Linked DNA regions of Homo sapiens: regions 1, 2, 3, 5, 6 and 7 are each linked to region 4. The links are contacts of gene promoters, found by promoter capture Hi-C in human tissues and cell types (Jung and others, 2019). All regions are on one chromosome and are shown on one strand. Each heading gives the region's core, a stretch centred on a gene start or on the middle of the fragment in contact. The rest is flanking DNA. Distances are from core to core; before and after follow the strand shown.

Region 1 (4,003 bases), core at 646-3,145, 330 kb after region 4:
GACATGAAGGGTCATCTGGCCTCTGCTCCCTTCTCACCCACGCTGACCTCCTGCCGAAGGAGCAACGCAACAGGAGAGGGGTCTGCTGAGCCTGGCGAGGGTCTGGGAGGGACCAGGAGGAAGGCGTGCTCCCTGCTCGCTGTCCTGGCCCTGGGGGAGTGAGGGAGACAGACACCTGGGAGAGCTGTGGGGAAGGCACTCGCACCGTGCTCTTGGGAAGGAAGGAGACCTGGCCCTGCTCACCACGGACTGGGTGCCTCGACCTCCTGAATCCCCAGAACACAACCCCCCTGGGCTGGGGTGGTCTGGGGAACCATCGTGCCCCCGCCTCCCGCCTACTCCTTTTTAAGCTTTTTCTTTCTTTCTTTCTTTTTTTTCTTAAATTCTTGCTTCCTCTTCCCCCCTCTTCTCCGTCCCTTCTCTTTCCCTTCACCTTCTGCCTGCTCCTTCCCAGAGGCCCTGAGAAGGCGAGGCCCGGAGGGAAGGTGACTGTTCGGCTCCCCCATCTCAGGTAAGGGGGACAGCGAGTGTGGTCAGCGGGGGACAGAGAATCCAGGGCGTCAGAAGTCCAGAGAGAACCAGGCACCCGGAGCCAGGGAGACAGCGAGACGACAGCTGGTCACCTCTCTCACCTCATCTCAGGTCTAAACCCAAAAAGAACAAAAAGCCCGCACTCCTCCCTAAGGTCTCCAGAGAGATGGACAAGTCTGTAGATACCATCCATCAGCAATACTAATATCGTGATGTCATTAAGTATTCATGGCCGTTCATTATGGCCTTCAATAATTCATCATTAGCACTTCTACCACACTTAGGACAGTGTAGAAAGGGAATCAGTGTAGAGAGGATAAGAATGATGGCATATAAATGAAGGCTTATTCATATGCAAATTACCCAAAGTTGTGTGATGCCTATCCATCTCTCTTTCTCTCTTTTTTTTGAGACAGAGTCTCACTCTGTCACCCAGGCTGGAGTGCGGTGGCGCAGTCTCAGCTCACTGCAACCTCCGCCTCCCAGGTTCAAGCAATTCTCATGCCTCAGCCTCCCAAGTAACTGGGATGACAGCCATGCACTACCACGCCCAGCTAATTTTTATATTTTTAGTAGAGTCAGGGTTTTACCATGTTAGCCAGCCTGGTCTCGAACTCCTGGCCTCAAGTGATCCACCTGCCTCAGCCTCTCAAAGTGCTGGGATTGCGGACATGAGCCACAGCACCAGGCTCCATCTCTTGATCAATGTGTTGATTGCTTGGTGATGCCTGCCATGCTGCCCAGGAAACCCTGTCCACTTGGACCTCTGGGACTTTAGGACCCTGGCTGTCCAGGCCACATCCCCATCTGCCCTCGTGGGGGACCCAGGGACATCCTGAGCCTGGCATCCAAGGCTCTACCTGGCCACTACCCACCTGCCCAGGCTCACTGTCCCCTCCCCTGCCCACATCTGTCACACCAACCAAAAAGGGTGGCCAACAGTTCTCACAAATGCACTGCATTTCCCCACTTCCAGGCCTTCTAGATGTCCTTTCTCTCTGCATGCTCAACACCCTACTGTCCGGGCCATGCTCAAATGTCTCATTCTCTTCCCATTCCCTTGCCCAACCCAGCCTGAGCTCAGCCCCTCTGAGTTTCCAAAGCTCTCCAGATCCACATAGCTCCCCTCGGTCCTTCATCCTAGGATTGTGGATGTGGTCATGTTTCCATCCTGTTATTCTCTCCAGACTAGAGGCCAGGTGTTGCAATGCAGGGCTAGGCAGAGTCTGTGCTTAGGTACTGGGGAGACTAAAGAGAGAGAGACTGAGCTAGAGAGGCCACCCATTAGGTGAGAGCATGGCGCTGTGTGTGCTTGGTGCACAGGAGTGAGCGAGTGTGAGAGGAAGAGCAAGTGGAAGGCCCATGGGGGAGCAGACAGCAACGGAGGGCGCAGGGCAGGGCTTTCTGCAGCAACAGACATGTCCTAGAGCTGCACCGCCCAGTGCGGTAGCCGCTAACCACATGCAGCTGTTGAGCATGTGAGATGCAGTTAGTGTGACTGAGGAATGCAGTTTCCACTTTTACTGAATTGCAATTAGTTTTACTAACTATATGTGGGATAAGGGTTACCATACGGGGCAGCAGAGCTGTAGGCAAAGGAGTGAATATGCCTCTTGTCACCTCTGTACAAATCTACATGTGGGTACGTGGGTGTGTGTGCACACGCGTGGGCATGTATGTGGACACACGCACTGTGGGTCAGGGCTGCAGCGGGGGCAGCCTTGTGTGGCAGTGCCCCATGGGCAGCTCTGAGCCTGCATCACGTGGTGTGGGGCCGGTGTGTGGTTTCAGTGTGTACAGGACAGGAGGGGAGGGGGACAAAGGGGCCATTGTGCCACATTCCCAACTCAAACCCTCCTTTCCGCTGACATCACAGCCGCCCTAAATACAGCCACCCAGACCCGCTCCCCGAGACCCTCACTATCTCCTGCAGGGTGTCACAGAGCCTGCCGCTCTGTCAGACTCACCTTTGTCTTCTCTGTGAGAAGGACCAGGCTCCTGATTTTTGGCTGATTTTTCAGTCAAGCCCAGATGGAAAATTCTAGAAAGGGAGGAGGCTTCATTTGGATTTTTAATTTCTGCTGCAATCTCAGAATCCTGGGTCCCTTTTGGGACCTAAGCCCCATCTCCTGGCAGGATTTTCTATCACCGGAATACAGTAGATTTTCCCTCCTTTTTTTTTTTTTTCCCCAGCACCTTAACTCTCAGCTTCCCAGACTTTCTCCAATGACAGAGCTGGGTGGGTGGAGGAGGAGAGGGGTTGCAAGAAAGCTTGCCGGCTGGGGTGAGGAGACTGTGTGTGGAGCAGGCGTGAGCGTGGGCCGCGTGGGAAAGAATGCGAGGCTGCCGTCAAGCCCAGCGTCCACACGAGGAGGCCTGCGATGGCGTCTGAGGGAGCAAGGTGAGTGCCACCAAGGGGTCTCTGTCTCCTGGGGGTGCCTGGTGATGAGAATGTGTCTCACTGTCTGTGCCCACCTACCTGTGCACAAATAAATGTATCTGTGTTCACAGGGGCCTATACACATGTATGTGTGTGGGTTGGGGTGGGCGGGCATCTGTGCATGATGAGGGCAGCTTCCCCACACGTATGGCAGTGAAAGCAACCCTGTGTGAACTGTGAGAACACATGGACTGTGGCATTTGGGACATATGTGTACATGGGCATGACAGAGGGCATAGGAGGGTCTGTCTGTGTGATATGGATGAATGGGGCGGGGGAGCAGAGAGGAGTGTGGGAAAAATTAGTGGGGGCTCGGTGTGGGAGGAGACCACTCTCCTGAAGTCCCCCAGCCAGTGGGAGCCCTGGTGCTGGGAAGGCTGAGTCTCCCTGTCCCCTTCCCCTGTGTGCGCTCCAGAGGGTATCAAGTCAGGCCGAGGGCATGTCCACAGTCAGGGAGGCAAGATCCTGGAAGCAGGAGGGGTCTTGTCCAGGAGGGTGGCAGGCCCTCCCCATGCAGAGATTTCAACCCTTTGCAGAGGATGTGCAAGGCAAGGCCAGGAGGGAGGTGAGTTTGGCACATGCTAATGCTGGAGAAAGTGGGATTTTCTCTGCAAAAGACAGTGGGAGGAACTGGGAAGGGGGTACTGAATGAGAAGGGACAGAGAACCATGATGGGGACTAAAACATTTTAGAGAGGGAGGCCACATACACGTGCAAGTTCTGGATGAATTCACTGCTGTGGGGCAAACTCTGCCCGCAGGCCAGGGCTTCGCTGCTGAGTTCACGGAGGCCTAGGAGAGCAGGTGTTCTGTAGAAAGCAGGGAAAGGGGCTGAGTTCTGGGTGTGAGTTAATCTGGGATGGAGATACAGGAAGAGCCATGAAACCAGCACAGCCCAATAAAGATACAACCCAAGGTGCGGATGTAATTTTTTATGATCTAGCAGCCATTTAAAAAAAGATAAAAAGGGCTGGGGGCGGTGGCTCACGCCTCTAATCCCAGCACTTTGGGAGGCCGAGGCGGGCGTATTGCC
Region 2 (4,035 bases), core at 1,118-3,617, 370 kb after region 4:
CTCAGGGCTATCATGGGGAGGCATGGGGTGGGTAACTCAGCCTGCCTCCTCGGCCTCCTCATGCCAGTTCTGCACTTGTCCTCCTGCCGGCCTCTCTGACCAGCTGCCTCCCTCCCCAGGTGTTCAGCACTTACTCCAACGAGGATTACGATCGTCGCAACGAGGATGTGGATCCCATGGCAGCCTCTGCTGAGTACGAGCTGGAGAAGCGTGTGGAGAGGTTGGAGCTGTTCCCTGTGGAGCTGGAGAAGGGTGAGAGGCCAGGAGGCCACGTCACTTGCGCACAGCTGGGGTTGACCCGGGTCTCATCTCTGGCACCAGCTCCTGCCCTGTGCCCTCAGGGGCTCCCACAGACTTGCTGGGCCTCTCCCTCTGACTCAGGCCCTTGGTGACCTTCCCCGCTCCTCCCTTGTCAGCACCCAGAGCAAACAGGGCCTCCAACCCAGGCCAAGCCACACCCCCACCACCCCGGTCATGGAACCACATTTGCACATTCAGTTAACAGGTCTCTGTAGGGTACTGTGTGCTAGGTCCTGGGCTCTGTGTTGGGGACACAGTGGTGGGCTCCTGGGGAGATGGATGGGGGAGGCAGACATGGAAGGCACAGTCACATCTAATCTCACCCTTAGGCGCTGGAATAGGGGCTGGGGAAGGTAAGGAGGGGCCACTGTAAAAGCGTTTAACAGGTGACCTAACCAGACTGTGCTTGGGGGCATTCTCCAGGGAAGTGAAGCTTGAGTTGCACTCTGGTGAGGAGGAATTAGGGGAGTAGTCAGGAAAGGGGCTTGGCTGCATTTGCATAGGGAGGGCAAGAAGAGCATGCAAATGAGGCCTTGCAGACCACGTGGTCTTGTTGCTAAGATGGATTGGGAGCCATTTCGAAGCACAGGAAAGGTCTAGAAAGACCACACCAGGCTGTGATGTAGGGAGGGGGTCACAAGTGGATGGAGAAAGGCCACTGTGGCGTGGACAGGAAGATGGCAGAGCGGGTGTGGGTGGACTGGAAAGATCTCCAGGGGTAGAATCCATAGCATCTGGGGGTCATTTGGCTCAGGTGGAGGCTGTGAGTGGGAGGGAGGAATCCAGGTGCCTCCCAGGTCTGGCAGGTGGCAGGTGGTGGTACCATCCCCCATGAGGGAGTGTTTGTGGGGGAAGGTCATTAGTTGGGACATCAGAGGGCCATGAGTCAGGCAGGGGCAGGTGTGGATAGGGGAATGGACCTCAGGGGAGAGAAAATCTGGAGGTCTTTGGTCCTTGAAGCTATGAGTACAGATGAGACTGGCTGAGAGGGAGAAGACCAAAGGCTTAGGGCTGAGTCCCATCCTGGCTACCCCCATCCTGGCTACCCCCATCCTGGCCACACGCCCTGGTCTGCATATGCAACAGTCTTACCTGCCTGTGCCACCCTTGGCACGCTCTTCTGCCCATTGGTTCTTTGGAAGGGACAAAGGGCAGGGAGCGGCTCAGGAGCCATCCTAGTAGACTTGGCAAAGACGGTGGACAGAACTATATCCCTTCTTCAGTTGTGGGACATCCCCTAATGGGGACTGCTTCCTGATGGGGGGGCTGTGCCCTGGAATTCGGGGTGGAGAGTCTCTCGTCTGTCCCCTACAAGCCCTGCCATCTCACCACTCTCTGTTCCACAGACTCCGAGGGCCTGGGCATCAGCATCATCGGCATGGGCGCCGGGGCAGACATGGGCCTGGAGAAGCTGGGTATCTTCGTCAAGACCGTGACGGAGGGTGGTGCGGCCCATCGGGATGGCAGGTACCAATCCTCCCCAGTCTCGCCTGACCCTTTTTCCCTCTCCGACCGGCCATCCTTGGTGGGGTGGGCCACTGAGCAGGGGGTGGGGCGGGCCTTCCCTGGGAGATTTCCGTGCTGTGTGTGCAGCTGAGATGTTCGGGGAGCACTGCCATGCCAGGTGCTGTTCCAGGCCCCAGAAATACAACAGTGAGCACTGTCAGCCCCTATGCCCTGAAGGAGCGTGTGTTCTCCAGGAGGGGCTGGTGACCATGGGGGCTATAGGCGTGTGTTGTGCATCCCGGTCTGGAGTACAGTTTGGGCCCTGGTAGGGAGAAGACAGGCATGGAGTATATTTGAGCTTTTTTTTCGCTGGACATTGAGTCTCTGACAGTGTTGGGCCGGTGCTGGGCCCTGGGAAGTCAATGGTGAGGGCCTGGCGCACTTGAGAAGTGTGCAGTGTGGTGTGAGGTAGACATTGAATAAATGGACACACAAAAGGTAGTGAAATGGAGGGAAATGCAGACTGCTGTGAAGGCATACAACAGGAGGGTTTAATCTCTCTGGGCATTAGGGAAGGCTTCCTGGAGGAAGCAGTGCTGGAGCTGAGAGCTAAGGCTGGAGCAGGAGTTAGCTGTGCTGAGGGAGTGAGTGCAGAGGTTCCAGGCAGTGGCGCCATGAGCAGGCAGGTGTGGCTGGGGCATAGAGAGCAGGGGCCAGGAGGCTGTGACTAGACCCATTGATGGCAGTGGCTCTGGAGACAGGCTGTCTTTGCGCATGTGAGTGTGTGTGCCTGTATTGAGCATCTGTGGTTGCAAGGGGTGAGTTCTGTGGGACAGAAGGTTCAGGGAGGGCATCCTGGAGCTGTGTGCCAGCCAGGGACCCCTGTGTTAGCTGTGTATTCCAGGGGTGTGGGGAGTGGCAGTAGGAAGGGCTGTAGGGCATCCCCCAGGGTGGCTGTAAGTTAGAGGTGACATTGGGGATCTCTTGTGGTGGTACCTCCAAACCCAGACCCCCTCCATGTGACAGAGGTGAGCAGGTGTCCTTTGGGATCTGGGTGACTTTGGGATCTTGTTTCTAGAGATGGGGCTGCCCTGTCAAGGGGCTTCTACCTGTTGTGGCCCAGGTGGCATGGAGAGGGGCCGGGAACAGGATACCCTTTCATTTACCCCTTCCCCTCCCAATGTGAACTTCCAGAGCCTTTCCCATTGTTGCCTGTGGGTTGTCTAAGGAGTGAGTGTGCATGGTGGCCGTGGCCACTCACTCATGCCCACCTGGGAGTGGCATGTGTTGGGGTGAGCTGTTGACAATAGGCCATTTCCTCCATTTCCGTGTGGGAGTCCTGAGAGAAGGCCTGGAGCTCCCAGGGAGGTGGAGTGGAGGAGGGAGGTGTCTGAGAGGCCCCCCACCCTCCATCTCCCTCAGCAGGCCAGACTGAACCTCCCCTTGTATGGAGAACACGGGCTTCAGGGGACACAACTGGAGTGTGTCGGCAGGTGCACCTGTATCAGGTGTGTGTGGGACAGTGTGTGAACTCGAGAGAGTGCCATTCGGTCTTGGGGACTTGGGAGGACATCTGTGCACTCAGTTCTGTGCAGAAATGTACACGTAAGAGGGTGGCATGTCACTTGTGTGCTGTGGGGCTCCTGGCCAGTGTGCATGGCAGAGATGAACTCTGAGAATGTCACACCGCTCAGTCAAGTATGATGAAGGAGGGGACAAGAGTGTGATTGTCACAGGAAGTGTGCCTGCCGCGTCTCCTGGTCCTGGACGCCTGTGTCTGCTTTGCTTGCCTGGCTCTCACTGCCCACACAGGTGGGCCTGGCTGACACTTAATCCTCTGGCCTTGTGAATGTTACGCAGGTAGACAAAGTACCAGGTCCCTGTGAGGACAAAGTATCTGTGAGGTTTTTTGTTGTTGTTTTCTTTTCTTGTTTTTTTTTGTTTTTTTTTTTTTTTGAGGCAGGGTCTTACTCTGTTGCCCAGGCTGGAGTGCAGTGGCGCAAACACAGCTCACTGCAGCCTTGACCTCCCTGGCTCAAGTGATCCTCCCACTTCATCCTCCCAAGTAACTGGGACTACAGGCACGTGCCACCATGCCCAGCTAATTTTTCTTTTTATTGTTTGTAGAGATGAGTTCTCACTATGTACTCAGGCTGGGGAGCCTGGAGTTTCTGATGGGAGGAGGCTACCTCTACCCTCGCTCCTCGGTTCCCCTGTGACCCCTTAACCAATGTCACTCCGCTAGGATCCAGGTGAATGATCTCCTGGTGGAGGTGGATGGAACAAGTC
Region 3 (3,997 bases), core at 68-2,567, 460 kb before region 4:
TGACACTTTTAAGAGGGGAAGGCTGTTAGTGTGAACTTTAGAAATTGATTCCAGGGATGTCAGCAGGAATGGAGTCATTTCAAAGTGTTTTGAATAATTGACTATTGTTGAATTCCCTTTTATGAGAGGAGTTGTTAGGGACTCCACTTGGCTGGGGTGATTTTTGTAACTTTGTGTTGGAGTGCAGTATGTCAGTTGGAACCGTACTGAGGAGTTTGTTAATAAAATCTCTATGTGGTTTTTCCATTTCCACTAAAAATTCCTTCCATTGTGGATCCTGAAAATAGAACAAAAATTGCTTAACCAGGTTTGGCAGTATCTCTAGTTATTTCCAGCCTGAAAAACAGACTTGTCTTTAGCATAGGCTAATTTTAATAGTGAATATACTGTTGTAAAAAATCAAATTTGATCTTTTTTGGGGGTCCATTTCCTTTTTCATTTCCTGTAATATTTTAACAGTGAGAAATTGATTCTAAAGTCCCATATTTTTAATGATTTAAACTTAAAACTTAGGCTGTAGAGACCCTAGCAGACAGGATAATTTTCTTACAAGTAAAATCTTCAGAACAACTCAGAAGAGAAATGGCGACAGCCTTTTGTCTCAGCCAGTTAATTTTTTTCATTGAAATTTTTTAAAATTTAAGAGCCAAACTTAATTTTTTTACCTTCTAACCACCTGGGTATGTTTCAGTTCAGAGATGGGAGTTTGAACTGAGTGTTCTCCTCTCTCTAGTTTGATATTGCTGTGAAAAGGCCATTACAGGGCTGGGTAAGGGAAAGTTTGGCCTGCAGAGAAAAATGCAGATATTTAGGGTTTTTTCTCTTCTGTTGTTTCTAGTCAACAGTATCAATATTTTCTTTTGTCCAGCTGAAATTCACATGGGGCACATTACAAAATTCTGTTAGATCAGTGGAATATATCTTTAGGTCCTGTGGTGTGTATGTTTTTAGGATTCTGCTGAAGAATCCATCCCACTAGACAACTTTTCACTGGGTTGTGCCAAAATAACCCTGCTCTGTGACAACAGATACAATTGATGCAAGCTTGTATCGAGAATTATGGTATGCCCTGCACTGGGTCTTATGGAGAGGAGTGTGGTGTACCCCAGACTGGGCCTTGGAAGCCAGTGTCTGATCAGGACACCATGGATCACATTCACTTAGCCGTGATGCAGAAGAACCTGTATCTTGGCTGCTACCCCAACCTCTTTGTTTCTCCTTTTCCATTATACACTGTTAATTTGTAACCTATCCTAAACTTGAAAATCATTGGAAGAAAAACCCAGTAGCTGGTGAATCTGCCATCTGCAGTGCTGCAGGCTAATTATTTTAATTTCCATATGCTTGTGTCAATTATCTTCAATTGGAGAACATTACACCTGTCATTGATAATTGTGAGTTATTTGGGTTTAGTTAGTTTGCTCTGTACCTGTGCTCACGCATTTTATAACACTATTCTCAGTTCTTAGTTTAAAATAAGTGACAGTAGACTCTTCATTTTGGATGAACACAGAATTGCCTTCTTAGCTTCCCATGTCTGGACCATCGGTATGCAGACATGTTGGGGTGGCTTTTTAACGTAGTATAGTGAACTGGATTTTATAAATACAGTCTGAAAAATGAATTAACCTTTTCTGAAGTCAAGCAGTGGCTTGGGTGAATATGGGTGAGGATTCTGACTCTTAGTATTTCTTCTACTATTTACTCTCCAGTGAAAGTCAGACAAGTTTTGGGCATCTTGTTCATGGACTAACCACGAGCATTACATCTGACTCACATCATTCTATATTTTATGTGTTCAGCCTAACTTGAGTCTTCTTATCATTCACTAGGTGATGAAGGTGGAGAATCAGAACTTCTTGGAGAGGATCTTCCACTTGAACCTTCTGTCACCAAAGCAGAAAGGAGTCACTTGATAGTGTGGCAAGTGATGTATGGCAATGAGTGAGCCCATGGGAAACAGGTGGAGATGGGGAAGCCGTCTCTTCTGCATGGTTTATTTTCCCTCTATCCTTTTATTTAATGCTCTTTTGTGAGATAAGTTTCACCACATAATGTGTGAGCATTTTTTCCTGTTAACTTTATATTACAAAATCCGTTCTACCATAACAATACAGAGGAACTAGCTGTGTTACTGCACCAGTGTTATAGGTAACTTCAGTATATTATGAACAAATCAAAGAATGTTTACTTCCTGCAAACTGGTGAATTATAGAAAGCAATCCAGATGTGGTTTACTCTGCCACAGTCTAATGTCATTCACTTCATTTGATGGGGTCACTTGTTAGCTGTCACTAATAATGGAATTAATGGGAAACACTTGATAAATGAAACTGTACCGTTAAATACAATAGCTGAGTTTTCCCCAGTGTATTGTAAAATTGACACACACTAATACAAGATGGATTATCAGGATGTATCTAAATGTCCCGAGAGGGTTAAAAGCTAACTGTAAATTACTTTAACTTTCACTTTCAAATCTGACAAATCTTGTTTATATGGTATATAAAACTTTGTTTTCATCAGATTTGGGGGGGTTTTATATTAAAGAAATTAAGACTACACTATTTAAATAAACGTTTCCTGTTTCTGACTTATTAGAGCTCTAAAGTTTATGAGGCCTACTTCTCTGAATATTCTGATGGGTTTTTTTTGAGACCAGTCTCATTTTCATACTGACATGTCTGAAAGATTTATTATTTATAAAGCTTAGGACATACTCTGGGAAGCTTAGAAGATACTTCAGCACTGGGAGGATTTTTTAAAGGAAATGTGTTTTGTATTTCTTGTACCAGAGAATGGTGATGTTGATTGAGTTTTTTCCATGTAAAAAATGTACTTGTTTGCCAAATGTTCCTAGATTGCTCTTAACCTGTTAATACAAGTAAAACTGTAGTGGGGATGGAGTCTGGCCTAAGTACAGAATGAGGGATTTAATTAGAAAAGTTATTTTCTTTTGTTCTGTATCAAACTGCAGAACAGCTATATACTTGGTATTTTGTACGTGAATAACGTTTTAGCTTTTGTGCCCTTTTGAGCTTGAAGGGTTATCCTCAAAGGGGAAAACTATGAAGGGGAAGAAGACAAACCTAAGATACCATAAAGTAAAGGTTGACATTACATATTTTCATTCACAATGCCCATTAAAAAAAAAAAATAGGTTGGGCATGGTGGCTCACGCCTGTAATCCCAACACTTTAGGAGGCTGAGGCAGATGGATTGCTTGAGCCCAGGAGTTCAAGACCAGCCTGGGCAACATGGCGAAACCCTGTCTCTACCAAAAAAAAAAAACAAAATAAATTAACCGGGTGTGGTGGCACATGCCTGTAGTCCCAGCTACTTGGGAGGCTGAGGTGGGAGGATGACCTGGGCCCAGGAGGTGGAGGTTGCAGTGAGCCTTGATAGCACCACTGCACTCCAGCCTGGGTGACGGAGCAAGACCCTGTCTCAAAACAGACAAACAAGCAAAAAATAGATTAAAGTCTGGATTTCACTGATTTTCTTGCTTAATAAGTTTTTTAAAACCACGATGCTGCAATTTTTTCCCTCTCAAGCTTCTTGAAAATGTGTGATTTACCCTTTTTTATCTATTACTCTAGGCAAAGCTAAATATGATTTTTTTTTTTTTTTTTGAGACGGAGTCTGGCTCTGTTGCCCAGGCTGGAATGCAGTGGTGCGATCTCAGCTCACTGCAACCTCCACCTCTCAGGTTCAAGTAGTTCTCCTGCCTCAGCCTCCCAAGTAGCTGGGATTACAGGTGTGTGCCACCCTGCCCAGCTAATTTTTGTATTTTTAGTAGAGACAGGGTTTCACCACATTGGCCAGGCTGGTCTCAAACTCCTGACCTCAGATGATCTACCCGCCTTGGCCTCCCGAAGTGCTTGAATTACAGGCGTGAGCCCCCGCGCCGGTCCGAAGCAAAGCTAAATGTAATTTTATGTACTGTTTTAACAGTATAAACCTATGGGATAAAGGCCCCCAATCATCAGAAGGACTA
Region 4 (3,864 bases), core at 1-2,500:
CGCAGTGGTCCATGCCTGGAATCCTAGCAGTCTGTGAGGCCGAGGCAGGAGGATCGCTTGAGGCCAAGAATTTGACACTAGCTGGGGCAACACAGCGAGAGCCCTGTTTACAAACACACACACACACACACACACACACACACACACACACAGAAAAAAAAAGCTAAAAATTAAATTTAAAAATAAATAAATGGAAACAGCCAAAAAAGATCAAAAGGGGGTGGGTTGCAAGTGAGAACATGTCCATGGAAGTCAGTCCGCTATCAGACGCCCTGTGGCTCTCCCAGGTGCAACCAGAAGAAAGCTGTAGAGGGTAGGAAGCAGTCATATCTAGCGATTCTTTCCAGGCTAAAGGAGCTGGATAAGTGTCATCCAGCTGGAAAGTGCACGTGGTAGGAAAAGGCAGTCAAAAAGAGAACTAGCCAAGCAAGGCCTTTCTTCTGGGTTTTTCCAGCAGGAATCCTAAGTGACGCCTGCCCCGCTCCCCGACCCTCCTCTACCAAATAATCCCATCAAGGTGGCTGGTTTCAACACTTCATTCTTTCCTCTTCCCAAGGACCCCAATTCCTGGCCCTTCTACCCTTAAACTCTTTCCTGGCTCTTCTGCACTTCATCCAGTCCGGGGATCCTGCCTCCTGCATGCCACCCTAAGATGTGGTTAGAGGTAGCGCAAGGCCATCTCCCCAGCCAGTGGTCCCTGAGGCCCCTCTGTCAGTCTCCCACTTCCTATGTCCCCATCCCCAAGGCCCAGTGCGCTGTAGGCTCTTCCTGCCTTGCCCCCCATCCCTAAGGGTCCTATGCCCAGTACCCCACTTCCCCGTGATCTTTCCTCCATCCCTGGTGCCATCCCCATCCTCCAGGCCCCGTGTCCTGAACTCTTTCCGGGGACCGCTTCCCCTCTCGGGTTCTCCCGAGCGCCCAAGGCAGCCAGCGCCAACCTTTGACATTCTCTGAGGCCTCTAATAATCTGGTCGGAGTTATTCTGAGGCGGGAATCCTTCTTTAGAGACTTCATGGTGCCGCCCGGCACCATGAAACGTTGCCCTGCACCGCCGGCCCAGAGACACCGAGGCTGCGCCGCACCCGCCAGCCAACGGCCGCCACTGCGTCCACAGCAACCGGTGCCCCGCGCGGGGGCGCGCATCCACCGATCAACTTGGGCGGAGACGGCTTGGAAACCTCCTTCTTCATCGGGCCGCGCACGCGCCCGCCGCCGGCGGCTTCAAGAGCGACGGACCCCTAGAAAGCCCTGCGGGCCCGGCCTGTGACGCCACAGGCGGCGCCGACGAGCGCCGTGACGTCACCAGCCGGGCGGGGCGGGGCGGGGGACCCGGGCGAGGACCCCCGCGAGTTGCGGGAGCCGAGGGCTGGGTGGGAGTGGCTGGCTGGTAGGGGTGCATGACCCGCCTCGCCCCGCCCTGCTGCTAGGCCACGGGGGGCGGGTGGGGCGTCGGGGGTGCCAGCCCCTGCTTCCCGCCTTCCTCGACTAAGGCCACATCCTGTCGAGGGACCTCCCTCTGCCCCCCTCACAGCGGTTCTGGGGGGGGATCGGGCCTTTCAGGACGTGCTGAAACCCCTTCGTGGCGTACCGTAGGTTTTAGGTGTCCCTGCCTGCCGTCCCCAACTCGCACCAACGCGCCTGGAGACCTCCCGGGTCCACGCTCGCTGCAGCCACTTTGGCCTTTCATCACTTCCCAAACCAGCCAAAACTTTTGCCCTGACTTGGGGCATTCTCACAGTCCTTGGAGATGCTGCCTCTGATTATTTTAAGTTTATAAACGCACCCGCTTTTTTCGCCTTCCCCTGGAGCCCTGAGGCATTCTGGGATTATTTCGGTTTTTTGTGTAGTTGCCTATTGTCAAACTGGCTCTCAGAATGTATGAGAGCAGGAGCTGCCTCAGGCCCTGCCCCCAACCCAAAGTTTAGCACTAGTAGTCAGGCAGTAAATTGTACCTCAAATAGTGAAGGGGTTCTAGAGCCAGACAATTGGGTTCTAATCCCAGCTATGTCGGCTTGTTAGCTGTGTGTTCTTGAGCCAATGCCTTGACCTAGAGAGCCGGTTTTCTCTGCTGGGCACAGTGGTTCAGGCCTACAATCCTAGTGCTTTAGAAGGCTGAGGCAGGAGGATTGGTTGAGGCCAGGAGTTCAAAATTGACCTGAGCAACGTAGGGAGACTCCATTCTAAAAAAAAAAAAAAATTTTTTTTTTTTTTTTTTTGAGACGGAGTCTTGCTCTGTGCCCAAGCTGGAGTGTAGTGGTGCCATCTCGGCTCACTGCAACCTCTGCCTCCCAGGTTCAAGCGATTCTCCTGCCTCAGCCTCCTGAGTAGCTGGGATTACAGACGAGTGCCACCATGCCTGGCTAAGTTTTGTATTTTTAGTAGAGATGGGGTTTCACCAGTTGGTCAGGCTGGTCTCGAACTCCTGACCTCGTGATCTGCCCGCCTCGGCCTCCCAAAGTGCTAGGATTACAGGCGTGAGCCACCGTGCCTAGCCTAAAAAAATTTTTTTTTAATTAGCTGGCTTTGGTGGCCCACACCTGTAGTCTTAGCTACTCTGGAGGCTAAGGCAGGAAGATTGCTTGAGCCCAGGAGGTCCAGGCTGCAGTGAGCTCTGATTGCACCACTGTACTCCAGCCTGGGCAACAAAGTGAGATCCCCATCTCATACATCCATACATACATATATACATACATAAAATGGAGGTCATAATGCTGCTCTCACAAGGCCACTGCCAGGGTTAAATGAATATGTATGTATTTCTTTTTCTTAGCGAGTATCTCACTCTGTTGCCCAGGTTGGAGTGCAGTGGCACAATCATAGCTCACTGCAGCTTCAAACTCCTGAGCTTAAATGATCCTGCTGCCTTAGCCTTCCGAGTAGCTGGGACTACAGGCATGTGCCACTGCACCCAGCTAATTATTAAATTTTTTGTAGAGACAGGGTCTTGCTATGTTGTTCAGGCTGGTCTTGAACTCGTGGGCTTAAGCGATCCTCCCGCCTTGGCCTCTCAAAGTGTTGGGATTACAAGCATGAGCCACCTCACCTGGCCTGAGTGTGCATTTAAACTACGAAACAGGGTGCCCTCCATAAACTGTAGTATCTTCTCAGTCAATTCTCAAAATCATGCTGGGGTTGAAGGGAGGGGACACATTATAAGCCCATTTTACAAACGGAGAAACTGAGCTCCAGAGAGAAGGGTGTAATGTCACCTGACTAGCGGGAAGCACAAATTGAACCTGGTTTTCTAAAGTCCAAGGCCAGGGCTCTTTGAACCCTGTCTCCTGGGACATTTCTGAGTTTGCAAGAGCTGCCCCAGACAGCGGAGGAGCTAGAGACGATGCCAGCAGTGCTGGTGAATCCCTGAGTTCCCTGTGTGTTGCCCGTTGCTGGGTCCTGCTCCAGGGCCATGGCCCCTTCTTCACACTGCTCTAGACCTTGCTCTCCTTATGACTGAGGCATCCTCCACGGACAGCCCCTCTCCTGCTCTCCGAGGCCCAGGCTCTGGCTTCCCTCTACCCTCTAGAGAATCCCCAGTTCCGTTTACTTCGCGACTGAGCACTTATGATCCAGCAGGCTAGGTGCTGTGCCATGTGGGTCCTCCAGGAAGCAAGCACTGAGATGAACATAGGACCGCAAGAGGTTTATTGCGGAGAGAGGGGGTAGTGGCAAGGCCGGTGAGGGAGAGGAAGCAGGAAAGGGCTGGGAGAGCCTCAGACTGTGCTGCAGATCTAACAAAGTCTTGGCCAACCCAGCATGTCCTCTGGGCAAAGAATGTTTGTTAGAAGTTGTCAGCTAACTGCCCTCCTTGAGGGTGAATGGCAAGTTCTTTCTTGAAGGGAGACAGGAATGGCTCACCTCCGTGGC
Region 5 (3,906 bases), core at 1,065-3,564, 290 kb before region 4:
TTTTGTATTTTCAGTAGAGATGGGGTTTCACCATGTTGGCCAGGCTGGTCTCAAACTCCTGACCTCAAGTGATCCACCTGCCTTGGCCTCCTAAAGTGCTGAGATTACAGACGTGAGCCATCATGCCTGGCCACCACATTCCTTTTCTTCCAGAAGGCCACTCTGCCCTCATCCTCCTCTTGCTTCCTTCTCAGTCTCCTTTGTGCCACCTCCGTGTCAGCCGCTCTTTAATGAGGTGTCCCCAGGGTCCTGCCTCAGTTCTCTTCCTGCCTCTCCCTGCTCTGGTTGCTCTGCTCCCATGGCTTCAACTCTAGTTAAGGTGACACCAGCTGCTATTACAGGCAAACACCAAGGTTTCAGTGGCTTAATGTAATAGAAGTGTATTTCTTCATAGGAAATCCAGTTGGCCTGAGTTCCACAAAGTCACAAAAGTTTTTTTTTGTTTGTTTTTTGAGACAGAGTCTTGCTCTGTCACCCACCCAGACTGGAGTGCAGTGGTGCAATCACTGCTCACTGCAGCCTCAACCCCCTGGACTCAAGCAATCCTCCCACCTCAGCCTCCCAAGTAGCTGGAACTACAGATGTGAGCCACTGTGCCCAGCTAGTTTTTTATTTTATTTATTTATTTATTTATTTATTTATTTATTTATTTATTTATTTTTTAGATGGAGTCTCATCACACTGTTGCCCGGGCTGGAGGGCAATGGTGCGATCTCGGCTCACTGCAACTTCCGCCTCCTGGGTTCAAGCGATTCTCCTGCCTCAGCCTCCCGAGTAGCTGGGATTATGGGCGCCTGCCACCACGCCCAGCTAATTTTTTGTATTTTTTAGTGGAGACAGGGTTTCACTGTGTTGGCCAGGCTGGTCTCGAACTCCTGACCTTGTGATCTGCCTGCCTCAGCCTCCCAAAGTGCTGGGATTACAGGCGTGAGCCATCACGACTGGCCCAGTTTTTAAATTCTTTGTAGAGATGGTGTCTCACTATGTTGCCCAGGCTGGTCTCAAACTCCTGGGTTCAAGTGATCCAGCTGCTTCAGCCTTCCACAGTGCTGGGATTACTGGTGTAAGCCACCATGCCCTGCCCCCTGCCATCTTTGACACATGGCTTCCTCATTGGCCTTGGACATCTGTATCCAGTCAGCAGCCTGGAGAGAACAAGGAGAATGGTTTGGAAGGTTGTGTGGGTTTTTATGATAGACAAGTACCTCACTTCCACCCACCTTCCACTGGCCCGAACTCCGCCCATGGCCACATCTAACGCAATGAAAGTCGGGAATGTGATCTAGCAGTTCATCTGGCAGTAGAGGGGCTGGCGTTCGATATAGCTTAGATGTTTGGCCCCTCCAAATCTCATGTTGAAATATGAGCCCCAGTGTTAGGAGTGGGCCTGGTGGGAGGTGTTTGCATCATAGGGGTGGATCCCTCAGGAATGGCTTGGTGCCCTCCCCATGGTAATGAGTGAGCTCTCAATCTATTAGTTCATGTGGGTGCTTTGTTTTTGTCTGTTTTTTTTTTTTGAGACAGGGTCTCACTCTGTCATCCACGCTGGAGTGCAGTGGTGCAATCACGGCTCACTGAAACTTCCACCTCCCAGGCTCAAGTGATTCTCTCACCTCAGCCTCCTGAGCAGGCCCACACCGCCACACCTGGCTAATTTTTTTTTTTTTTTTTTTTTTTTTTTTGAGACAGAGTCTCACTCTGTCACCTAGGCTGGAGTGCAGTGGCACAGTTTTGGCTCACTACAACTTCTGCCTCCTGGGTTCAAGTGATTTTCATGCCTCACCCTCCTGAGTATCTGGCACTACAGGTGCCTGCCACCATGCCCAGCTAATTTTTGTATTTTTAGTAGAGACAAGGTTTTACCATGTTGGCCAGGCTGGCCTTGAACTCCTGGCCTCAAGTGATCTGCCCACCTCGGCCCTCCAAAGTGCTGGGATTACAGGTGTGAGCCACGGCGCCCAGCCTGATTTTTTTTTTAGAGATGGCGTCTTGCTATGTTGCCCAGACTGGTCTCAAACTTCTGGCCTGAAGCAATCCTCCTACCTTGGCCACAGTGCTGGGATTACAGGTGTGAGCCACTGCACCCGGCCTGGTTATTTAAAGGAGCCTGGCATCGTTCTGGCCATGTGGCGTGCCTGCTCCCCCTTGTCCTGTGGCCCTGAGTAGAAGCTTCCTGGGGCCTTCCCCAGATGCAGGTGCTGGTATCATGCTTCCTGTACTGCCTGAAGAACCATGAGCCAAACACCCCTCTTTCTTTATAAATTACCAGCCTCAGTTTCCTTTACAGCAATGCAAAATGGACTAAGACAGCGTTCGTAAGCCTCTAGCCAGTCTCTGCCATGGGTTGCCCAATAGCCACTAAGTAGCCATTTCACTCTTCCTCTTACACATGGAACACACTCACTGCTTCCCGGAGAGGCAGCTGAGTCCACACCATCACTGCCTCCTGGGGCCTCCGCCACAGTTCGGGATCTCCAGCACACACAGGATTCTCTCCTCCAGGTCCTCTGTGACTCCCTGTGATCTGGAAACCGATGCCTAAAAGAACAAGTTATCGTGTCCTTCCTTTCTCCACCCCAGTATAGACACACAACACACTTCCGGATCCAGTGGTGGGGTGCAGATAGGGCAAGCACAGGACAACATCCTCTTCAGAGAAGGGAAGAACAGAAGATGCAAAGCAGGCTCTGATGACAGCGATGATGCCATTTGGCCAGGTGGGTGCTGGGAGCGCCCCCACCCTTGAAGGAATTGCCCTGTCCTCTTCTCTATGGCTCCCAGCCCTGCCCTCCACACTGTCGTCTTGCCATGTTGCTCCAAGGCCGCATTCGCAGCGACCGTTGAGGGGTAGACCCTCCCGGGTTGCTGCTCATCTTTTGTAGCCTGCAGCTCCTTCGGGTAAAAGTTTTAAGATCTCAAAGTGGTTTTGTTTTGTTTTGTTTTGTTTTGAGACGAAGTTTCGCTCTGTCGCCCAGCCTGGAGTGCAATGGCGCAATCTCAGCTCACCACAACTTCCACCTCCCGGGTTCAAGCGATTCTCCTGCCTCAGCCTCCCAACTAGCTGGGATTACAGGCATGCGCCACCATGCTCAGTTAACTGTGTGTGTGTGTGTGTGTGTGTGTGTGTATTTAGTAGAGATGGGGTTTTACCATGTTGGTAAGGCTGGTCTCGAACTCCTGACCTCAGGTGATCCACATGCCTCAGCCTCTCAAAGTGCTGGGATTATAGGCGTCAGCCACCACATCCAGCCTCAAGGTGGTTTTAAGGCCCAAAAGTTCAAACACTTTCTCTCTTTTTTATTTGTTTATTTTTTGAAGTTCAGGCTTATGGCTTATTTGACATACAGTTCCCTGAAAATCTGAAAAGGCTCCTCTACTTGCTTCCAGTCATTTCTGGATGCCAGCAACCACGTGCGAAATTCACAGTTAGACACAGTTCTCCAGCCTGATTCTTCTGCTGTCCGCCCTCCGGCCATTCTCTCTCGATGTGCTGATGGCAATCTTGAGGTTCTCAGGCCTGGGGAAGGACACTCCCTGACTCTGACCTTGCCTGAGGTTGAGGCTTCATGGGCCTTTGCTGCTCAAAGGCCTTTAAGCTATGATTTCCTTCTGTTTGGCATCTAGAAGCCGTCAATGTTCCTAACCAATACCCCAAATTCCGGGAGTCCCTATTTCATCTTAGTTTTGCTTGCAAATCAGCCAGTGCTCACTGGTCCCATCTTATTCTTCTGAGACCTTGTTAAGTGCTGCCTGTACTTTATGACTTCTTCCCTTAGAGCTACAGGGTCAGAGGACAGCTGACCTGTTTATCTCAGGCAACTATTTTACCAAATGTTTTGCCGTTGCCTAGCATGGGTCTCCATCTTTCCAAACCCTGACAAAGGTTTTCTCACTATCTTGCCCAAC
Region 6 (3,983 bases), core at 1,474-3,973, 310 kb before region 4:
CCATGCCTACACCACCACCAGGAAGGAGGCTTTGATTTTTGCCTTCTATTTCAGAAAGGCTTGCTTTGCACTTTGAACTCTGTTTTGGGTTGATCTTGGGAGTGGCGATTTGAGGGAAACAACAAAACAGTATGTAGCTAAGTGAAGAGGTAGACCACAGAAAATATATATTAGTCACTGCTCTAGCTTGCAGCAAGCAGACTGAAAGTCTCACAGGAGGCTGGGCGTGGTGGCTCACGCCTGTAATCCCAGCATTTTGGGAGGCCAAGGTGGGCGGATCATGAGGTCAGGAGTTTGAGACCAGCCTGGCAATATGGTGAAACCCTGTCTCTACTAATATACAAAAATTAGCCAGGTGTGGTGGCGAGCACCTGTAGTCCCAGCTACTCAGGAGGCTGAGGCAGGAGAATCGCTTGAACTTGGGAGGCAGGAGTTGCAGTGAGCCGAGATCGCGCCACTGCACTCCAGCCTGGGCGACAGAGTGAGACTCCGTCTCAAAAAAAAAAAAAAAAAAAGTCTCACGGGAAAGGTTCCTTTGTCCCCCTCAGATGGTGTGCGATGGGGGTATGGCTCGCTTCTTCAGTGCCCTGCTGCTCAAACTTCTAGGGGAACATACAGATGGGCAGGCTGTGGGGCTCTGACCCCACGGCAGTGTCAAGGGGTGAATGTTTACAGCTGAAGCTCCAGTGAGCGTGTGTTACAGGGTGCTCTTTCAGTTTTGCCATCTGTAGGCAGCTTGGGTTAGTCAGCTCAATTAGACCCACTACTTTGTCACTAGGACAGAGGGTTTTCTGTATCCCAGGGTTTCTTGCCTTGGTGTACCAGAAGAATCAGATCACACGTGGGCTTGGAGAATGAGTGCAAGGTTTTATTGAGTGGAAGTAGCTCTCAGCAGATGGGGGAGCCAGAAGGGAGATGGTTTTCCTCTGGAGTTGGGCCGCTTGGTGTCCCAGGCTCTCCTCCAACTGCCCCAGCCAAACTCTGCGTCCTTCTGCTGGTCAGTGGCCTGCTGGCATGCCGATGCCGGTGCCAGTGCGTTCCTCTTGACATCCAGCCGCCTGTGTGTCCCACCGCCAATATACTCCTCTAGATGTCCAGCCGCTTCTGTCTCTGCCCTGCTAGGGTCTCGGGTTTTTATAGGCACAGGATGGGGGTGTGGCAGGACAGGGTGGTCTTGGGAAATGCAACATTTGGGTGCAAAAGCAGGAGTGCCTGTCCTAACCTAGGTCCACGAGGGTGGAGCCCTCGCCAGGGAGCACAACCTTCCTCTACCCAACATTTCCCTTGCGCTGTTCCGTATCATTTAAAGGGACCACGCTCTTCCCTTCCCAGCGTTTCCATATCAAAAGCAGAAGAACCCATGACTGTCCGCATTTGGGCCAAGTGAGCATGAAATAGTTGAGGGATAGAAAGCTACTGCACATTTCATGGTGGAATGATTGGGGGCACTGCTGGGTACAGAGGATGGGCAGAAAATGGGCCAGGCTCATTCATCGGGAGCCACCAGGAGGACTTTCTGCCAGTGAGGAGCCGGGGGGAAGGCGCTTCTCTCCCTAAGTCCAGCAGTCAGACACCATGGTAGATGGCAGGAGAGGTGCTTCCCAAAGTTTGGAGAGGCTCTGTTCCTAACTCTGAGTCAGCAGAAGGAAAACAGGAGGGAATTGGAGGATAAAGAGGGGGCCCATGCAAGGGAGCCAGCCCCTTTGTGCCTGCAGGGCACAGGGCAGGTACAACCTGCCCACTGTGGCCTCAGGTACATGAGGATCAGAAAGGCAAAGACCCCACCACTGAGGGTAGAAGGTGTTAGGGTGCTGGAGTGAGGGCTCAATGCCCGAGTATCCCCTTCCCTCTGGGGTTTCTCAGGGAGGGAGTCATCTTGGTGCCTGAGCCCTGCCCCCAATGCAGAGACCCTTAGTATAGTAGACCCTGATGAACCCTGGGGCTTAGGCTTAGGCCAGGCTTCAACCTTCCAGCTTCCTTCCCCAAGGGTCCTGCCACAGGTGGAGAAGATGGGCCAGAAAGAAAGGGTGGCCAGCCCCTACACTCCCCCAGCTAACTCATCACTGGGACAGTGCCTCCAGGTCTGGCTGCCACGAGGGAGACGTGAAAGAAAGAGAGGACGTAGAGAGAGGCCTCTATCAAGGCCACGTGCCTCTGAAAATCCAGTCACCGCATTCATGAGTAAATTCTGAGTGATGGATGTTCTTGACCCCCACCAAGTAAAATGAGCCACCCTGCCCCCACCACACCCTCTCCACCTTCCACCCTGTTACAACTGAGGAGGTGTCCCTCCTATTTAAGGTCAATGCTGCCAACAATGTGTTGGATCCCAACACTTCCCTTTCTTTCCACCTCCTTAGGAACTTTATACCATCAATTACGCCTTCTGTCTCCCAAATACCTGCCACCTTTATACACATTCATGTCTCTCTTATCCTCAACAGATCATTACATCATTCCTTCCACCCCGTATTCCCCCTCCATGAACAGCCCTGCCTCTTTCTACCTTCCAAGTCAGTCCGCATCCTGGCTCCATTTTCTCACCTCCCAAGTCCCTGAACTCATTCTCCTGAACTCTGTGATCCAGCCTCCCACACGTTACTTTGCTGACAAGCCTGCTGCTAAAGTCACCTGCTGCTAAAGTCACCTGCTGCTAGTGACTACCATGGCCCTAAATGACACAACCAGTCCTCGTTTTCTTGCCTTTCTGCAGCTTGTGACCTGTTGACCACATCCTCCTTCCTGACCACTCTCCCCCTACATCTGTGTTGTGACCTTTTTTCTCCTGGCTTTCTACCCACTTCCCTGGTAGCTTCTTCTTCATCTCCTTTACAGAAGCTTCCCCTTCCACCCAGACATTGCACCCTAGCCCCAAACAGTTAATATATCAGTTGCCAGAGTGGTTGCCATGTGTGGTAGATTTAAGAAGCTCCTAGGTGGCCAGGCGTGTAGTGACTCATGCCTGTAATCCCAGCACTTTGGGAGGCCAAGGTGGGTGGATCACTTGAGGTCAGGAGTTCGAGACCAGCCTGGCCAACATGGTGAAATGCCATCTCCACTAAAAATAACAAAAATTAGCCAGGTGTGGTGGCACATGACTGTAATCCCAGCTACTCGGGAGGCTGAGGCAGGAGAATCGCTTGAACCCAAGAGGCAGAGGTTACAGTGAGCCGAGATCATGCCACTGTACTCCAGCCTGGGCGACAGAACAAGACTCCGTCTCAAAAAAAATAATAAAAATAAAAATAAAAAATTAAAAAAAAACTCCCAGGTGATTTTTACTTGCAGCCAGGGTTTCGAGCCACTGCCTTCAAAGTTGTATCTGCAGCTCCTGGAACACCGAAAGACAACTCTGTTCCCCAGAAGGCATCCACCCAGATCCAGTGATTCCTTCTCCATTTGCATATGAGCCATTCCGGAGACTGACACAGAAGTTATGCAGGGCCTTCCCCTATCCGTAAATAATCTGAATACATCTTTCCATAGTGGACTAATTAGGGAAGTAGTTCTCTTTGAGACCTTAGTCATATATCTAGAAACAAACTTATATTTTTATCTCTTGAATCATGAATTTTAAAGAAAATCTAGAATGCTAAAATGCCTATGCCCAAATTATGATGTTTTGGTTCAGTTCTCTGCTTCCCTCCGCCCCCCACCAGAATTGTCACTGCTCTCTGCTTTCTGACTTCCTGTCCCCGGGGAATTTTCCTGCTCATCCTGCTAGTCTCCACTGAGAAATCACCTCTTCCTGGTGATTCCCCAAATTCGAGCCAGGTAAGCCAGGCATCCACTTCTGTGATCCCACCCTGAGCTGATCGTAGCGTTTTGCTTTTCCTAGCATTCATCACATTGGAATGTATTGACACGCCTCCCCAGCCAGACCTCAAGGCAGGAACCGTGTCTTATTCACCAAGGTATATCTGGTGCCTGGCATAGGGCGTTCTATAAAGTTCTATTGAACTAATGAATGAATGAATATTTTT
Region 7 (4,357 bases), core at 1,270-3,769, 340 kb before region 4:
TCTAGCAAATGGTGAGTATAAGTAAATGACTTCTGTATATTGATAGAAAGGAATGCTATCAGTATCATATCAGTATGATTTAAGAAATGGAATTACTGGCCGGGTGTGGTGGCTCATGCCTGTAATCCCAGCACTTTGGGAGGCTGAGGCAGGCGGATCATGAAGTCAGGAGTTTGAGACCAGCCTGACCAATAGGTGAAACCCCGTCTCTACTGAAAATACAAAAATTAGCAGGGCATGGCAGCACGTGCCTGTAATCTCAGGTACTGGGGAGGATGAGGCAGGAGAATCACTGGAATCCAGGAGGCGGGTCGCAGTGAGCCGAGATCGCACCACTGCACTCCAGCCTGAGCGACAGAGGAAGACTCCATCTCAAAAAAAAAAAAAGAAAAAGAAAGAAATGGAATCATCCTACCCTGCAAATATTGTACACTTTAGTACAGTATCCAGACACCTTGTGACACAGGTTCAGTAGTTTCCAGGCATAGGAACATCTTTTTCTGTTTTGCACTAAATGCAGGTATTCCTTTCAGATGGCTTTCCCTTGCCACCCCTCCACTAGCCATCAATGCATTTCTTTTTCCTTTTTTTTTTTTTTTGGAGGGGGAACGGAGTCTCACTCTGTCACCCAGGCTGGAGTGCAGTGGCGCAATCTCGGTTCACTGCAACTTCCGCCTCCCGGGTTCCAGCAATTCTCCTGCCTCATACTCCTGAGTAGCTGAGATTACAGGCACGTGCCACCACGCCCTGCTAATTTTTGTATTTTTAGTAGAGACGGGGTTTCACCATATTGGTTAAGCTGGTCTCGAACTCCTGACCTCGTGATCTGCCCGCCTTGGCCTCCCAAAATGCTGGGATTACAGGCGTGAGCCACTGCGCTCGGCCCCATCGATGCATTTTTAGTAAGGATGAAGGTTGAATTTTGTTTTGTTTTGTAATGACAATGCCTATTCTTTCTTCACTCTGATTATCCAGATCTGCCTACTGCCCTCAAATCTCTTTTCCCAAAAAGAACTCTCCTAGTTTTGCAAACTACCTGCCATTCTAAAGTTTTGTGGAGCCCTGGTGACTTACTTTATTCTAATTTCTTTTTATTTCCAGAAAACATGATAGGAATCTCTTAAACCATTTTAATACAAGGTTTAAGATAGCTGCAATCTTTGCAGTCAACCTTTCTAGAAACTAAGGTGTCACCAGAGGCTCTTTAACTAAAGACTTTGAGAACAAACAGTTTTCACACAGCTATAAAAGATTTTTACCTGGGGAAATTCTTCTTTGTGAATCTTGAAAAAGGCTGGAAGAAAGGAAGGAAACTTTTTTTTGGTAACTTAGAAAGAAGATTCTTGTTTATTTTCTGAACCACTAAAGTTCAAAGAACTTTTTGGGTTCTGTGTAAAAGGAATAGAGAGATGGAGGTGAGAGCTTATCTCCCCAGGAGCATCTGCCAAAGGAGAAGGGTCTGGCAGCCGGCAAGGGACCAGGGTGTTATGTCTTCTATCTGCCTTTGCTTCCAGGGCCTGGGAAAGGTGGAAAGGACAGTAAAGGAGAGAGCTTATGCATACACTGCCTGACAACTTGCCCTGGAGATCAGTTTCCTCGGAAGGAGGCTTTGCAGAAGTTCTGACACCGCCATTTCCCAAAGATTGTGCGCGTGTTTTTTTCCCAGATTTTCAAGGAGGATGGGGAACTGCTCCTACGTAAAGCACTGCCTATTTGAAGGATGATTTTTATACTATCACAAAGTCTTATGGAATCCAGAGGGAATGACCAACCCCAAAAGCTCAGTAGTAATAATGGCAACCCTTATATGAATTTACTATGTGCTAGATACTGCCCCATTTAAATTCAGTTCAACTTCATAACAACCCTCTGAAGGTTGTACTGTTTCTCCCATTTACAGATATATAAGTGGAGGCAGAGAGCTTGCAACAGTCACAGCCAGCGGAGCTAGGATTTGAACTGTGGGATTCTGTTTCCAAAGTCCATGATCCTTAACCATTACACTATCCTGCTCCCTTGGTTGACCTCAACCGGTCGATTTTATAAAAAGAGCCCCACCTGATTATTTAGAAGTCATCTAAGCTGCACTTTGTGCCCAGTCCCCCTCTCCTGCAAACCTCACTTGTGATTGTTTGCTCAGCAATCCCAAACTTATTTTGCTATCAGCCTTTGCCAGGCACAATTAGGAAAGGGAAATCGGTTGCAAAAACACAATGGAGTAAGATATGAGTTTGAGGGCTACGTGCTAGCTTTACTTACTTACATTGCGACTGCTCTCTGGATGATTAGATTTGTTGAGAAGCAACTATAGGCACTTCACATACTGAAGTCTTGGGTCCTGAGCTTTACTAGTACTTGTGATAGCAAAAGGGTGATGTTGACTCAAGTGGCTGCCCTGGGCTCAGATTCCATTCTTGTCCCTAAATTCTTTCTCAAACAAGGTGAGATATGATTAAAAACAGCTCCTGTATTCATCCACTCAACACATTTATTAAGCATCTCCTGCGTTAGGAACTGGCAGTGATATATACAATCCTTCGGAACCTCTAAAGGAGCTTACATTCTAGCAAACGATAACACACACGCCCAAATAATCATAATACACAGGAAAATGTAGGGGTATGAACAAAAAAGGGTGAGACTGTGCCTATCTTAGGGATGCTAGATCTGGGGGGAGATATCCAGCTATGAAGAATGGGTACAATGTCCACTGGAAGCACCCGGGGAAGCCTGGGCTCCCTCAAATTCCCAGCTCCAGTGGAGGAACAGGCAGTTGAGAGGAAAACCTTGGTCCTGGTGTGTGTGTGTGTGTGTGTGTGTGTGTGTGTGTGTGTGTGTTCTTCATCAGATGTAGCCACAGTAGGAAGAATGTGTGCTGCTAACCCTTGGGGAAAAAGGCAGAGGAAATCAGAAATAGAAGCTCTGCTGCCAGCCCATCTCTCCTGGGAGAACCTGCCTTTGAATTTGAACATTTTAACTTATTTTTTCACTGTTTCAAGCTTTGTACAGAAACATTATGAAAGAGAAATAGTTTAAAACTTCTTTATTCATCAAACCCAGGAGTGAGATGGGGAGGACCAGTAAGAAGTCCAAGGAAAGAAAAGGTGGGACTGAGAGGGGCGTCAGGCTGTGTCAGAGGGATGTCGAATTCCTTCCTTTTAAGACAGTTTCAGTTTCATGCTTAATCTAGAAACTTCCTCAGGCTAGAAGCTCCCTCTAGGGGTCATCTCATTTGTTTTCCTACCTTTAGTGACAAAGCCTCTTTTGGTTTTGTGATGTCAGGGCTCACAGCAGGTACTACCCCTCCAGAAGTTGGTGTTGGTGGAAAGTGCGTGTTCATTGCACAAACTCAGACACCCCCAGGTCACTCCCAGTTGCCACTCCCATCGCCACACCCTACCCCTGGCCAAGGCAACAAGTCTGTGGAGCTCTGCAGTTTCCTTTTCCAGTTTGGCTTTTTGGGTGCTTGTAATATCTTCCGGTTTGAACATAAATCAAAGAATGAGGCTTTGAAGGGAAAGCTTTGTATAAATTTCAGCCAGAAATTAACATTCCCAAATAACTTTTCGCCTGGGTCACTTCCCCGGGCAATGCCCTTCCCCAGGCTTCCCTAAGTTCTCTTGGTGGCTGAGCACTCTGTCATCCACTGAAAATACCACCACAAGCTGGCCAAACTCCTTCATGTGACCTGGGACTGTTCAGAGAGCATCACTATTCTGTACAGAGTGTGGATCCTGCTTTGGCACAGAAGACACCAGCGTCTGATCCTTGTCTCACACTCACTTGACCAGCGGGGACACATGTTTAGGCCCCACAATTTCCCCTGCAGATGTAAGAATGCTCTAGAGTGGTGTAGGGGGCTTCATTCAGCCTCCAAATAACATTACTCCTCGTGATCCTCTATGAGAAAGAACGTGGGCTTTGGGGTCAGACTTTTTTTTTTCCTTTTTTTTTTTTTTCTGAGACAGAGTCTTGCTCTATCACCCAGGCCGGAGTGCAGTGGCGCAATATCGGCTCACTGCAACCTCTGCTTCCTGAGTTGAAGGGATTCTCCTACCTCAGCCTCCTGAGTAGCTGGGATTACAGGTGCCCAGCCCCAAGCCCGGCTAATTTTTTTGTATTTTTAGTAGAGACGGGGTTTCACCATATTGGCCAGGCTGGTCTCAAACTTCAGACCTCAGGTGATCCGCTGCCTCGGCCTCCCAAAATGCTGGGATTACAGGTGTGAGCCACCACGCCTGGCCTGGGGTCAGACTTTGAATCAAATCTCAAACTCAACCTTAAATAGCAGTGCACTGTTAAAACGATTCCACCTCAGATTTCCTAACTGTAAAAGGGTTCCAAATTCTACTTGTTA

What was found. The method cuts DNA at HindIII sites, captures the fragments that hold promoters and counts their contacts. A contact is called where the count stands out against the background at its distance.
Region 1: a contact is called between a fragment that was not itself captured here and the fragment with the promoter of MYCBPAP in region 4, in 1 of the 25 tissues and cell types used here (spleen).
Region 2: a fragment that was not itself captured here is called in contact with the fragment with the promoter of MYCBPAP in region 4 in 1 of the 25 tissues and cell types used here (H1 embryonic stem cells).
Region 3: a fragment that was not itself captured here is called in contact with the fragment with the promoter of MYCBPAP in region 4 in 1 of the 25 tissues and cell types used here (dorsolateral prefrontal cortex).
Region 5: a contact is called between a fragment that was not itself captured here and the fragment with the promoter of MYCBPAP in region 4, in 3 of the 25 tissues and cell types used here (adrenal gland, bladder and heart right ventricle).
Region 6: a fragment that was not itself captured here is called in contact with the fragment with the promoter of MYCBPAP in region 4 in 1 of the 25 tissues and cell types used here (aorta).
Region 7: a contact is called between a fragment that was not itself captured here and the fragment with the promoter of MYCBPAP in region 4, in 2 of the 25 tissues and cell types used here (mesendoderm cells and thymus).

What each region holds. Positions count from the first base shown.
Region 1 is chr17:50,179,639-50,183,641 of GRCh38, reverse strand. No RefSeq gene overlaps it. Among named protein-coding and RNA genes, the nearest start is that of SGCA, 16 kb to the right of the region's middle. RefSeq lists enhancers at 825-1,720, 2,180-2,474. The HindIII fragment of the contact is 5,023 bases long and covers 1-4,003 here.
Region 2 is chr17:50,141,330-50,145,364 of GRCh38, reverse strand. PPP1R9B (protein phosphatase 1 regulatory subunit 9B) reads left to right here. Exons shown (of 10, transcript NM_032595.5): 2 at 120-252; 3 at 1,647-1,767; 4 at 3,992-4,035. Among named protein-coding and RNA genes, the nearest start is that of PPP1R9B, 7.3 kb to the left of the region's middle. The HindIII fragment of the contact is 8,211 bases long and covers 1-4,035 here.
Region 3 is chr17:50,964,223-50,968,219 of GRCh38, reverse strand. It overlaps SPAG9 (sperm associated antigen 9), which reads left to right. Exons shown (of 30, transcript NM_001130528.3): 30 at 1,833-3,997. The coding sequence ends at 1,948. Among named protein-coding and RNA genes, the nearest start is that of TOB1-AS1, 100 kb to the right of the region's middle. The HindIII fragment of the contact is 5,827 bases long and covers 1-3,997 here.
Region 4 is chr17:50,505,825-50,509,688 of GRCh38, reverse strand. MYCBPAP (MYCBP associated protein) reads right to left here and starts at 1,250. Exons shown (of 19, transcript NM_032133.6): 1 at 939-1,250. The coding sequence starts at 1,014. RefSeq lists enhancers at 1,025-1,154, 1,175-1,234 and a silencer at 1,255-1,544. The HindIII fragment of the contact is 18,604 bases long and covers 1-3,864 here.
Region 5 is chr17:50,791,920-50,795,825 of GRCh38, reverse strand. No RefSeq gene overlaps it. Among named protein-coding and RNA genes, the nearest start is that of MIR8059, 25 kb to the right of the region's middle. The HindIII fragment of the contact is 8,529 bases long and covers 1-3,906 here.
Region 6 is chr17:50,817,910-50,821,892 of GRCh38, reverse strand. No RefSeq gene overlaps it. Among named protein-coding and RNA genes, the nearest start is that of WFIKKN2, 16 kb to the left of the region's middle. RefSeq lists an enhancer at 2,544-2,603. The HindIII fragment of the contact is 3,816 bases long and covers 816-3,983 here.
Region 7 is chr17:50,851,135-50,855,491 of GRCh38, reverse strand. No RefSeq gene overlaps it. Among named protein-coding and RNA genes, the nearest start is that of TOB1, 13 kb to the left of the region's middle. The HindIII fragment of the contact is 4,759 bases long and covers 140-4,357 here.